Linked DNA regions of Homo sapiens: region 2 is linked to region 1. The links are contacts of gene promoters, found by promoter capture Hi-C in blood cells and fetal thymus (Javierre and others, 2016). All regions are on one chromosome and are shown on one strand. The core of a region is centred on a gene start or on the middle of the fragment in contact, and the rest is flanking DNA. Distances in the headings are between cores, read along the strand shown.

The links. Contacts are between HindIII fragments. The CHiCAGO score rates a contact against its expected background, and 5 or more counts as called.
Region 2: a contact is called between the fragment with the promoter of SPATA31H1 here and the fragment with the promoter of CCDC121 in region 1, in 1 of 17 cell types (endothelial precursors). The highest score is 5.4, in endothelial precursors.

What each region holds. Positions count from the first base shown.
Region 1 is chr2:27,626,408-27,631,389 of GRCh38, forward strand. It overlaps CCDC121 (coiled-coil domain containing 121), which reads right to left and starts at 2,605. Exons shown (of 2, transcript NM_024584.5): 1 at 2,543-2,605; 2 at 1-1,510. The coding sequence starts at 1,392. The coding sequence ends at 556. GPN1 (GPN-loop GTPase 1) reads left to right here and starts at 2,643. Exons shown (of 14, transcript NM_007266.4): 1 at 2,643-2,762; 2 at 3,452-3,545; 3 at 4,620-4,659. The coding sequence starts at 2,652. RefSeq lists a silencer at 1,575-1,869 and enhancers at 2,318-2,377, 2,438-2,747, 2,788-2,887. The HindIII fragment of the contact is 4,758 bases long and covers 1-3,259 here.
Region 2 is chr2:27,534,381-27,539,362 of GRCh38, forward strand. It overlaps SPATA31H1 (SPATA31 subfamily H member 1), which reads left to right and starts at 3,006. Exons shown (of 5, transcript NM_032266.5): 1 at 3,006-3,190. The coding sequence starts at 3,047. RefSeq lists an enhancer at 3,002-3,296. The HindIII fragment of the contact is 4,761 bases long and covers 1-4,065 here.

The DNA.
Region 1 (4,982 bases), core at 1,355-3,854:
TACTGGACTTGCTGTTATCAGAATGCTTTTTCACTCATGAGAAAACTAGAAGGAGCTACCTGGTCACTGGCACAAACTCACAAAGAGCTTGTAAAAACTGCTTTTGTCTGCTAAGTTGGTCAAAAGGAATGAGGATAAACTGGCAGAACGCTATTCAAAGTCTATTTGGAATGCTATCCTTAAAGGTACTTTCTCTATAAAGAAATACAATTTAGCTAGATGAAATAAATCACAACTGTTTTCACTTCCTTAGGTTGGTTTCCTTTAGCTAGTTTGATGTATGGTAAATGGCTAGGTTAGGGTCATGTGTTAGGTTAACTGGAGGTTTGTGGAATAGCTTATTAACGAGTATTTAAAGAAAAAGCTAGTTAAGGGAAGCTGGTTACCAAATATCTAGTAGGACTGTTGGATAAAACCATCTAATCCTTCACTCCAACACATCATGATGGAGATTTTACAATAGCAATCTGGAATCCAACAGCCTTTCTAACCAGGTTAATGTAGCACTTAAGAGTACTTGCTCCAGTTCTTATTTAATCAGTGTTATTTTAGAAGTTACTTTGGATTAATCCTTGATTTGGTGCCTTGGGGAAGACTGGGTGTGGTCTTTGGAACATCCTGTCTATTTAGGCACTGATTATGACTTCCTTGCAGTCTCTGCCTCGCCTGGATTAAGGACTCCAGATACCACTGTTCCTGCTGCAGCTGCTGCTTCCTGTTTTCTAAGTGGCTTTGAGTAGCCGTTAGTTTCTGGGCTTGCTCAATTAGCTGCAGTAATTCCTTCTTGAACTGCTGGTTCTCTCTGTTGATGCCACAGGAGTATTCAAAAATAAACCGCTTTGCTGCCAACTTCAAGGCCTGGGCCTTCATATTAAGCTCTCTTCTTTTTCTCTTTCCCAGTAGCCTCCTGTCTGGCTCGCTCAGTTGTTTCTCCAGTAATCTTTTCTCCTGGAGGAGCTGGGCCTGTACTTCCCGTGTCTTTGAAGCTGTCTCAGCTTGGACTTTCTTTGTCTCCTCCTGTAATGTCTGTATTTCTTTCTCCTGCTTTTCCTTTAATATAGCAATGTCCCTCATTGCCTGCAACTTCCGCTTCAAACTGGATTGGATATTTTCCTTTTGCAAGAGCGCTGTTTTAAGCACTGAAATTTGTTCTGCATATCTGGAGGCTGATTCTTGTCTTCTTCGTTCAATCTCTCCACTTTTTTGTAAATAGCTGTTCCATACCTTCTCAGGTTGCTCTGTGTACTCTTCAGTTTTGTTAGTCAGGTATTCCAGAAAGAATCTGTTTTCAGCCTGGACAAGTAACTTTTCTCGGTGTAGCTCCCTGGATTCCTCCAGTAGCTGTTTCCGCTGGGTTTGAGCTTGTTTTATATGCTTGTTCAGATCCGTCATTTCCGCCACTATCTTTTCTTTAAGCCTTGTCTCTACCTTTGTTAGCTTCTCTGGCTTGACAAAATTATTTATTAGACTATGATACGGTGGAAGGAGCCTTCTGGGGCCCTCAGCAAACCTGAAAGAACAAACGAGACATTCCTCTGTCAGTTAATGAAACTTTAGGAAGTAAGTGCACAACTGTCCTTCATTCATACAAGAGAATATTTCTGAGCACCAGAATGTTCCAGACATTATGCAAGGTGTGGGGAATCCAGCTAGTGGTAAAGGATGAGGAATGTAGCTCGTCATTTACAACGTGCATTCACTACAACCCTGGGAGGTATTACCTCAGTTTTAAAAAAGGAGAAAACAGGTTCAGAGAGTTTAAGTGACTTGCCCATGACTCACACCACTAGCAAGTGGCAGAGCCTGGGTATTAAAGCCAGATCTTATGACTTACTGAACACTGTTTGCAGCTACAAAGGGTCACAGAAACAGACTGGGTGGTCAGGAGTAGAAATAATTTTCTAGGCTCTTTCATCATCTTTCCTGAGTTTCTGAGGGACCTTCAGTGACTGGAGGGGAGGAAGCTCCCCTCCAGTACCTACTTGCACCTGGAATCCAAGCATTCATCCTGAAGGTCACGGCAACTGTGTAGTTCACTGAGGGTGACTGCCAAGGAATGAGCGCTAGCATCAGGAACCTGCGTCTGCAACTCGCGGGAACAATGTGCAAGTGTGGAAAGCTCCCGTAGTTTATTCGTTCGGTGCTCAAAGGGTCTCGGTGCTGCCCAGCAACCCTGGAGACTGCACCCTGCTCCAGTCCCGGCTGGTCCAGCCCTGAACTGTTTAACCGCCTCGGCTACCGAATAAGCCCGAGCAGCCGGTCCTCCAGTGGCTCCGCTCCCCGTTCTCTGTGGGCTCAAAATGACAGGCATGCTCCTCGTTTTCTTGCTGTGTGAGCCCTGCCCTCGGGACCCCATCTCTTCTGGCCTTCCTCCGGGAGACAAAAGCCCTCCCAGGCTGCAGAGATCAGCGCCCTTTTCCTAGCTCCCTTCAGCCTTCCTCTCGCTTGCTCAGCGCCCCCACTTCCTCGCCACTGTCACTAGTTGACTCATCAGCCCTGCCCGACGCTAAGAAGATGCCCTGGCAACCGCCGCGCCCCTCACCCGCTCCTTTCTGACGCTGTGGTGGTTTTCGTTCGCAGCCCAGAACATTGCGGAAGTTTCTCTACCCATGCGGTGTCTCTATGGTCGGGTGGGTGGGGCCAGGAGGAAGATGGCGGCGTCCGCAGCTGCCGCTGAGCTCCAGGCTTCTGGGGGTCCGCGGCACCCAGTGTGTCTGTTGGTGTTGGGAATGGCGGGATCCGGGAAAACCACTTTTGTACAGGTGACGTACACAGCATGGGTGTAGTAGGGGAGCGCAAAAGGTTGCCTCCGGCAGGCGGAAGGCCAGGAAGAAAGGGAGGGAAGAGGATTTGGAGGGTACCGGCGCATGGCTTTCGGGGGCTTCCCATCAACTTTAGTTCCTTCCCCGGCAAAGCCTCCTCGGGCCCTAGCCAGGTTAATTAAGGCTCTCTTCTGCGCACCTTCAGGGCATACTCGGTCCAGCTTACCACGTTGTACAGGAATTGTCTTGCTGATAAAATTGCGTTTCTCGGAGGCAAGTTACAAGTAACTTTAAAGATTAATACAGTGCTAGCACACAGGTTTTGGTGAAGATTTGCCAAATATTTCTTGCACGCCTGTCATGTTCCATTCACTGGGGATATAGCGAAAATGAGGTTGACAAGATTCATTCGTGGGGCCAAATATTTAATGGAGGAGATAGAGAAAACCCACATACGAAGAATCAAAACAAGTAAACAAGTGACTACGAGTAGGGGAAGCTTTGTTAGATGGGTGATGAAGAAAGGTAGCATTTGAACTGAGAGTTGTATCTTGGAGGTGGACATGGTGGATATTTCAGGTAGAAGAAAATCTAAGTGCAATATTCTTAAGGCATGGGTGTTAAAGGAATGGAAGTTCTCTCTTGTCCCCTCTTTGTCTCCTTCCAACCCTCTCCCCATATCTCTGCAGAGGCTCACAGGACACCTGCATGCCCAAGGCACTCCACCGTATGTGATCAACCTGGATCCAGCAGTACATGAAGTTCCCTTTCCTGCCAATATTGGTGAGTAAACCAGTAACATAACTTGTGTGCAGTGCTTTAAAGAGAATGGAAAAGGCCAGGCGTGGTGGCTCACGGCTGTAATCTCAGCACTTTGGGAGGCCGAGGCAGGTAGATCACGAGGTCAGGAGTTCAAGACCAGCCTGGCCAAGATGGTGAAACTCCATCTCTACTAAAAATACAAAAAATTAGCCAGGCACGGTGGCAGGCACCTGTAATTCCAGCTACTCGGGAGGCTGAGGCAGGAGAGTTGCTTGAACCCGGGTGGCAGAGGTTGCAGTGAGCCAAGATCGTGCCACTGCACTCCAGCCTGGTCAATAGAGTGAGACTCTGTAAAGCCTCCAGCCTGCCAGTCTTCAGTGCCTTCTTTTTTCATGTTTTCTAAACTATCTACTTTCATTTCCTTTGGATTTGCTTGCATTCCTAAACAGCTTAGGTTTTTTTTTTTTTTTTTTTTTTTTTAGACAGAGTCTCTGTCACCCAGGCCAGAGTGCAGTGGCGTGATTCACAGGTCACTGCAGCCTCAACATCCCAGGCTCAAGTGATCCTCCCACCTCAGCCTCCTGCCGCTATGCTGGGCTAGTTTTGTTTTGTTTGGAGAGACAAGGCCTCTCTATGTTGCCCAGGCTGGTCTTGAACTCCTGGGCTCAAGTAATCCTCCTGCCTTGGCCTCCCAAAGTGCTGGGATTATAGGTGTGAGCCACTGTGCCCAGCCTAACTCCTTTTAAAAAATCATGTCTGCATTGCCATTGTGTTGCCTTTGTCAGTAATAGGCAATTAGTAAGAAGCATTTTTTCCCCCTTGATTTTTGCCTCCCTTTTTCTAGGCATGTTTAAGTTGCATGAAACTTTGCACTTTGTGGAGACAAAACTCTTTGCCACAACTTTAGAGCTCCTAGCCCTAACATTCTTCATGATTTACTTGGCATTTATTCTTTGTAAGGAAGGAAACCAGTGTGAAAGTGGAGGTGGTAGAAGAGAATGCTGACAGGAGAAGGCTAGAAGGCCAGTTTTACTTTCCTGGTGGTAGGGAATGTGTATGTATTACATTCCAGTTAATTCTTTTTTTTCTCCTCAGATATTCGTGATACTGTAAAGTATAAAGAAGTAATGAAACAGTATCCTTTTCCATCTACTTTGGTCTTGACTCATTCCTGGCTTCTTGTCTGTGTATTTTGTGGCTTGAAAGAGTGTTTTTGCCTTTTCCTTGTGAAATATACAAGCAAAAGGATGGAAGCTGATTGTGGGAGAGGTAGGTGATCAGAAATACTATTTCAGCTTGAGATTTTAGTTTTCTTACCATCTCCCCAGATGGCAGGCTGTTGTAATTAAAGAGCAGAGAGTATGATAGGATAACTGACAGCTACCTGGGTCCCACAAGGTAGTATTTTGCCTTGGAGGATCATCTGTTGGTCACCACCTCTTTAGACTGGGAAACTCA
Region 2 (4,982 bases), core at 1,756-4,255, 92 kb before region 1:
GTCAATACATTTGAAAATGTAGATTAAATGGAAAAATTACTAGAAAATATACCTTCCAAAGCTGACTCAAAAAAAACCTCTCATGGCTGGCTACAATGGCTCGTGCCTGTAATATCAGCTACTCAGGAGGCTGAGACAAGAGAATTGCCAGAGGCCAGGCGTTCAAGACCAGCTGGGGCAACATAGTGAGACCCTCATTTTTAATTTTAAAGTAATTAATTTTTATTCCCCCCCATTCTCAATAGTATAATAATCTTCAAAAAAATGGAATATGTAGTCAAAAATCCTCACTCAAAAAGAACTCCAGGTTTGTATGGTTTTGCTGATGAGTTCTACCAAAAATTGAAGGATCAAAGGGTTCCAATCTTACACAAACTCTTTCAGAGCATTTAAAAAAAGAGGAAACATTCTCTAACTCTTGAATCCAGCATAACTTTGACACTAAAAACCTGACGAGGACAGAAAAAGAGAGAAAAATTTCAGGCTGGCCTTGATCATGAAAATAGATGGCTGGGCGTGGTGGCTCACGCTTGTAATCCCAGCACTTTGGGATGCCAAGGCGGGTGGATCGCTAGAGTCCAGGAGTTCAAGACCAGCCTGGGTAACATGGCAAAATTCCATCTCTACAAAAAATACAAAAATTAGCCAGGCATGGTGGCACATGCCTGTGGTCCTAGCTACTTGAGAGGCTGAGGTGGGAGGATCGCTTGAGCCCGGGAGGTGGAGGTTCCAGTGAGCCGTGATCATGCCACTGCACTCCAGCCTGGGGGACAGAACAAGACCCTGTCTCAAAAAAAAAAAGATGCAAATATTCTAAACAAAATATTAGCAATTGGAATGCAATAATTTATTTAAAGTCTAAATGGCCAATTAACTTATGAAAGTGTGTTTTAACTTTAGTAATCAGAGAAATTCAAGTTAAAACCACAATGAAATACCACTATCACACACACCACATTGGCTTAAATTAAACAGCTTGACAATACCATGTGTTGAGATGAAAATAGAGCAAGAAGAACTACCATTCACCACTGGTAGAAGTAGAAATTGACATATCCACTTTGGAAAGCAGCTTGGCACTGTCCACTAAAGTTTGTTACACATACGCTATAACTTAGCAATTCCATTCCTAGGTAGACACTGTACAGCAGGTATTCTCAAAGTATGGTCCCTGCATCAACAGCATCAGCATCACCTGGGAACTTTGAAATGCCAAATCTTTGGGCTCCACTCCAAACCTACTCAACCAGCAACTATAGGTGTAGGGCCCGGCAATCTGGTTTATAATAAACCCTCCACATGACTGTAATGCATTTTAAAGTTTGAGAACTACTGCCATAGAGAATTAGGAACTTGTGTTTACCAAGATGCATGGACAAGGATGTTTTTGACAGCATTGTTTATAATAAGCAAACACTGAAAAGAAGCCCAATATCCATCAATACCATAATGGATAAATATGTTATAGAATAGTTATATAATACAATGAAATATTAAAAAATGATGAATTACAGCTATACAAAATATGATGGCTATCTCAAACATAATGGTGAGTAAATATTTAAGACACAAAGAATACATTTTTATATCCATATAGAGAAAGGTTCTTGTCAAACTATATATATAATATATAAATATGTTTTATATATTATATACATAATGTTTTAAGAACCCAAAACTATGTCTTCAGTTCTAATCTTTTTTTAGAACTCCAGGCTGGCATATAACTAGTACTTGCCACTTAATGTGTGTTCAGCTCATATTACATATCCATATCTTATTCTTTATCGTTATAATCTGTATAGTGACCACAGAGTATTCATAATATGGGTATAGCACATTTATTTAACTACTTTCTTCTTGATGGGCTTTTCTAGAACATTGCTTAGGCTGCCCCTGTAGGCTGAAAATTCTATGAGGTAGATACCTCATCTGTCCTCTAAGACATTACCTGCTGTTCAATAGTTCATCGAGTTGCTTTTCCAGATTAACTTTCCTATAAGAAAAAAGAATGCCTTGGCCAGTTTTATTAATCTTTGTTATAGAATGAATTGATTCCTTGTACATTTTTTGTTTATAGTGAATTAGCCCTAGAGAATCCAGTCAAGTCTGGATGACATGATGGAATAAATGTTCTAGACTTGGAAAATGAGACTGTAGATTCTGGGGTAGAGTGATCCTCTAAGGTAATTTAATTTCCCTCTCTGACATCTCTTTTCCATCTCAATGCAATAGCAGCTAGAAAATGTGTCAAGCCTTAGACTTAGGAAACCGTTTATCTCAAATTTTCTGAGAGTACCTACTTAAAATATCCTAGCTTTCTTAAATTTACTTGACCTTGGCCGGGTGCGGTGGCTCACGCCTGTAATCCCAGCACTTTGGGAGGCTGAGGCGGGTGGATCACGAGGTCAAGAGATCGAGACTAGCCTGGCAAACATGGTGAAACCCCGTCTCTACTAAAAATACAAAAATTAGCTGGGTGTGGTGTCGCGTGCCTGTAATCCCAGCAACTTGGGAGGCTGAGGCAGAGAATTGCTTGAACCTGTGAGGCGGAGGTTGCAGTGAGCTGAGATTGTGCCACTGCACTCCAGCCTGGAGACAGAGTGAGATTCCATCTCAAAAAAATAAAAATTACTTGACTTTGTATTCTAGTTTGTGGTTTGGGGCATTTAACACCATATCTGGACTTCCAGGGAGTGACTGGCTCCAGAGAAAATGCTTGTAGGGCAGAACAGGCCACTTGGGAGGCCTGCTTCTTTAAAACCTTGCCTACATACTCCCTACTTAATGACAAGCTGTCTAGCCCAGTCCTAGAAGAGTCATAAAGGAGTTCTTCCCTGAGCTTTGGCTGTCAGAGTGGAGCCTGTGGACAGCTGCAGGAAGGGGCAGCAGATTGTACTTTGGGTATGGCTCAGAGAAGAGAGCTAAGTAGCATGCACATTGGCTGGATGCTGTCAGATTTACCTTGGGATGCCCATTGTGATGTCATATGAAGTCACAGCCTTGAGGCAGAAAACTCTGGCTGAGAAGAGCATGGGGTTGAGAAATGGCACCAATTTGGGGGATGGACGTCCCACTGCCATCAGATATCAGCCTTCTATTATTGTTTGTTTTTTTTATTTGGCGGCTTTGGACACTGTTTTCCAGGAATCGGAGCTGGAAGCAGGTGGCAGCCAAGATAAACTCAGAGGTATGTGATGTAGCCCTCCCTTGAAACTAACTGGTCCCGCTCCTGAGGCCATAGAAACTGCCATACTTTGGGCCATGGGAGGAACTGGATGCAGGGAGAGGGGAGTTGAGACAGTGCCCATGGATAGTCTTCCTATAGATCACTATAAATCCTTTTTCCTTCAATTCATTTCAACAGACCTAGAGACTATCGCCATTCTCTAGGAGCTCGAGGTGAAGTGGGGGAGATGGATATACACATAACTGGAAAGAGAATGTGATTAAGAGTTAATAGAGGTATAAATGTTGCTGACATGGGAGGTAGACAGTATTTTGAACTAGGGGGCTCTATAAAATACCACCTGGGAGAGCTCAGGTTTGAGTGTGCTTCAGAGGAAGAGTGGGATTTTGAAGGTGGTTGGAGTGAATAGAGGAAGGCAGTGGAAACCTTTTAAAAAAGAGGGAATACATTGGAAAAAAGATGTGGGAAAGGGAAGCGTATTGGATGTGTTTGAGGAGAGATGTCACCAATCTGGATGGAGCATAGGACTGTAGGGACTCAGAGAGAGAAAAGATTGACAAGTTAACAGAGGTCACACTGTAGAGCTTTGAACGCCAGGCTGAATACTTGGTATAAATACAACTCTGTGCAGTTTGAAAGACATCAAAGATTTTAAAGCCAGATAAAAATGTGCTTAGATCTGTGCTTTGAGGAGCACTTCTTAAACTTTAACATGCATATGAATCACCTGGGGGATCTTGTTAAAAAGCAGATTCTGATGTAGTAAGTCTGGGGTAGGGACTGAGTTTCTACAATTCTAGCAAGCTCCCAGATGCTGCTGCTGCCCTTGGAATGAGGGCCACACAGTAAGAATGAGGTTTTGAATACCTCCAGTAAGCTTATATGGTAGTTCTCTGGCATAGCTAGGCCATTTTCATGGTTTAGTGGGAAGAAGCGAGGAAACAAAAATATCAGAGTGGCACGGTGAAAAAGAGAACGTAGCCGGGCGTGGTGGCTCTCGCCTGTAATCCCAGCACTTTGGGAGGCAGAGGTGGGCAGATCACTTGAGGTCAGGAGTTCGAGACCAGCCTGGCCAACATGGTGGAACCCCGTCTCTACTAAAAATACTAAATTAGCCAGGCGTGGTGGCGTGCACCTGTAGTCTTAGCTACCGGGGAGGCTGAAGCAGGGGAAACACTTGAACCTGGGAGGCAGAGGTTGCAGTGAGCTGAGACCACGCCATTGCACTCCAGCCTGGGTGACAGAGCGAGACTCTGTCTCAAAAAAAAAAAGGAAAAGAGAACATAAATTAATTCCCCAAGTATTTATCACCTGCTCCTACCCCCATTTCCACTCCTCTGTGCACTATTGATACAGCAGTAAGTGGAAGAGAAAAAAATATCTGCTATCAGGGATGTGAAAGTGGAGGAGGTATTGGGGTGAATGTTTGGATGTGGAAGGTGTTGCAAGACTCCCTTGCAAAGGAGGGAGAAGGGACTGAGTCTATTTTTCCTGATGCAAAGAGTTAATTATAAACATTATCATCATTTTCTTTTTTTTTTTTTTTTTTTTTTTTTAATTGATCATTCTTGGGTGTTTCTCGCAGAGGGGGATTTGGCAGGGTCATAGGACAATAGTGGAGGGAAGGTCAGTAGATAAACAAGTGAACAAAGGTCTCTGGTTTTCCTAGCCAGAGGACCCTGCGGCCTTCCGGCCTTCCGCAGTGTTTGTGTCCCTGGGTACTTAAGATTAGGGAGTGGTGATGACTCTTAACGAGCATGCTGCCTTCAAGCATCTGTTTAACAAAGCACAT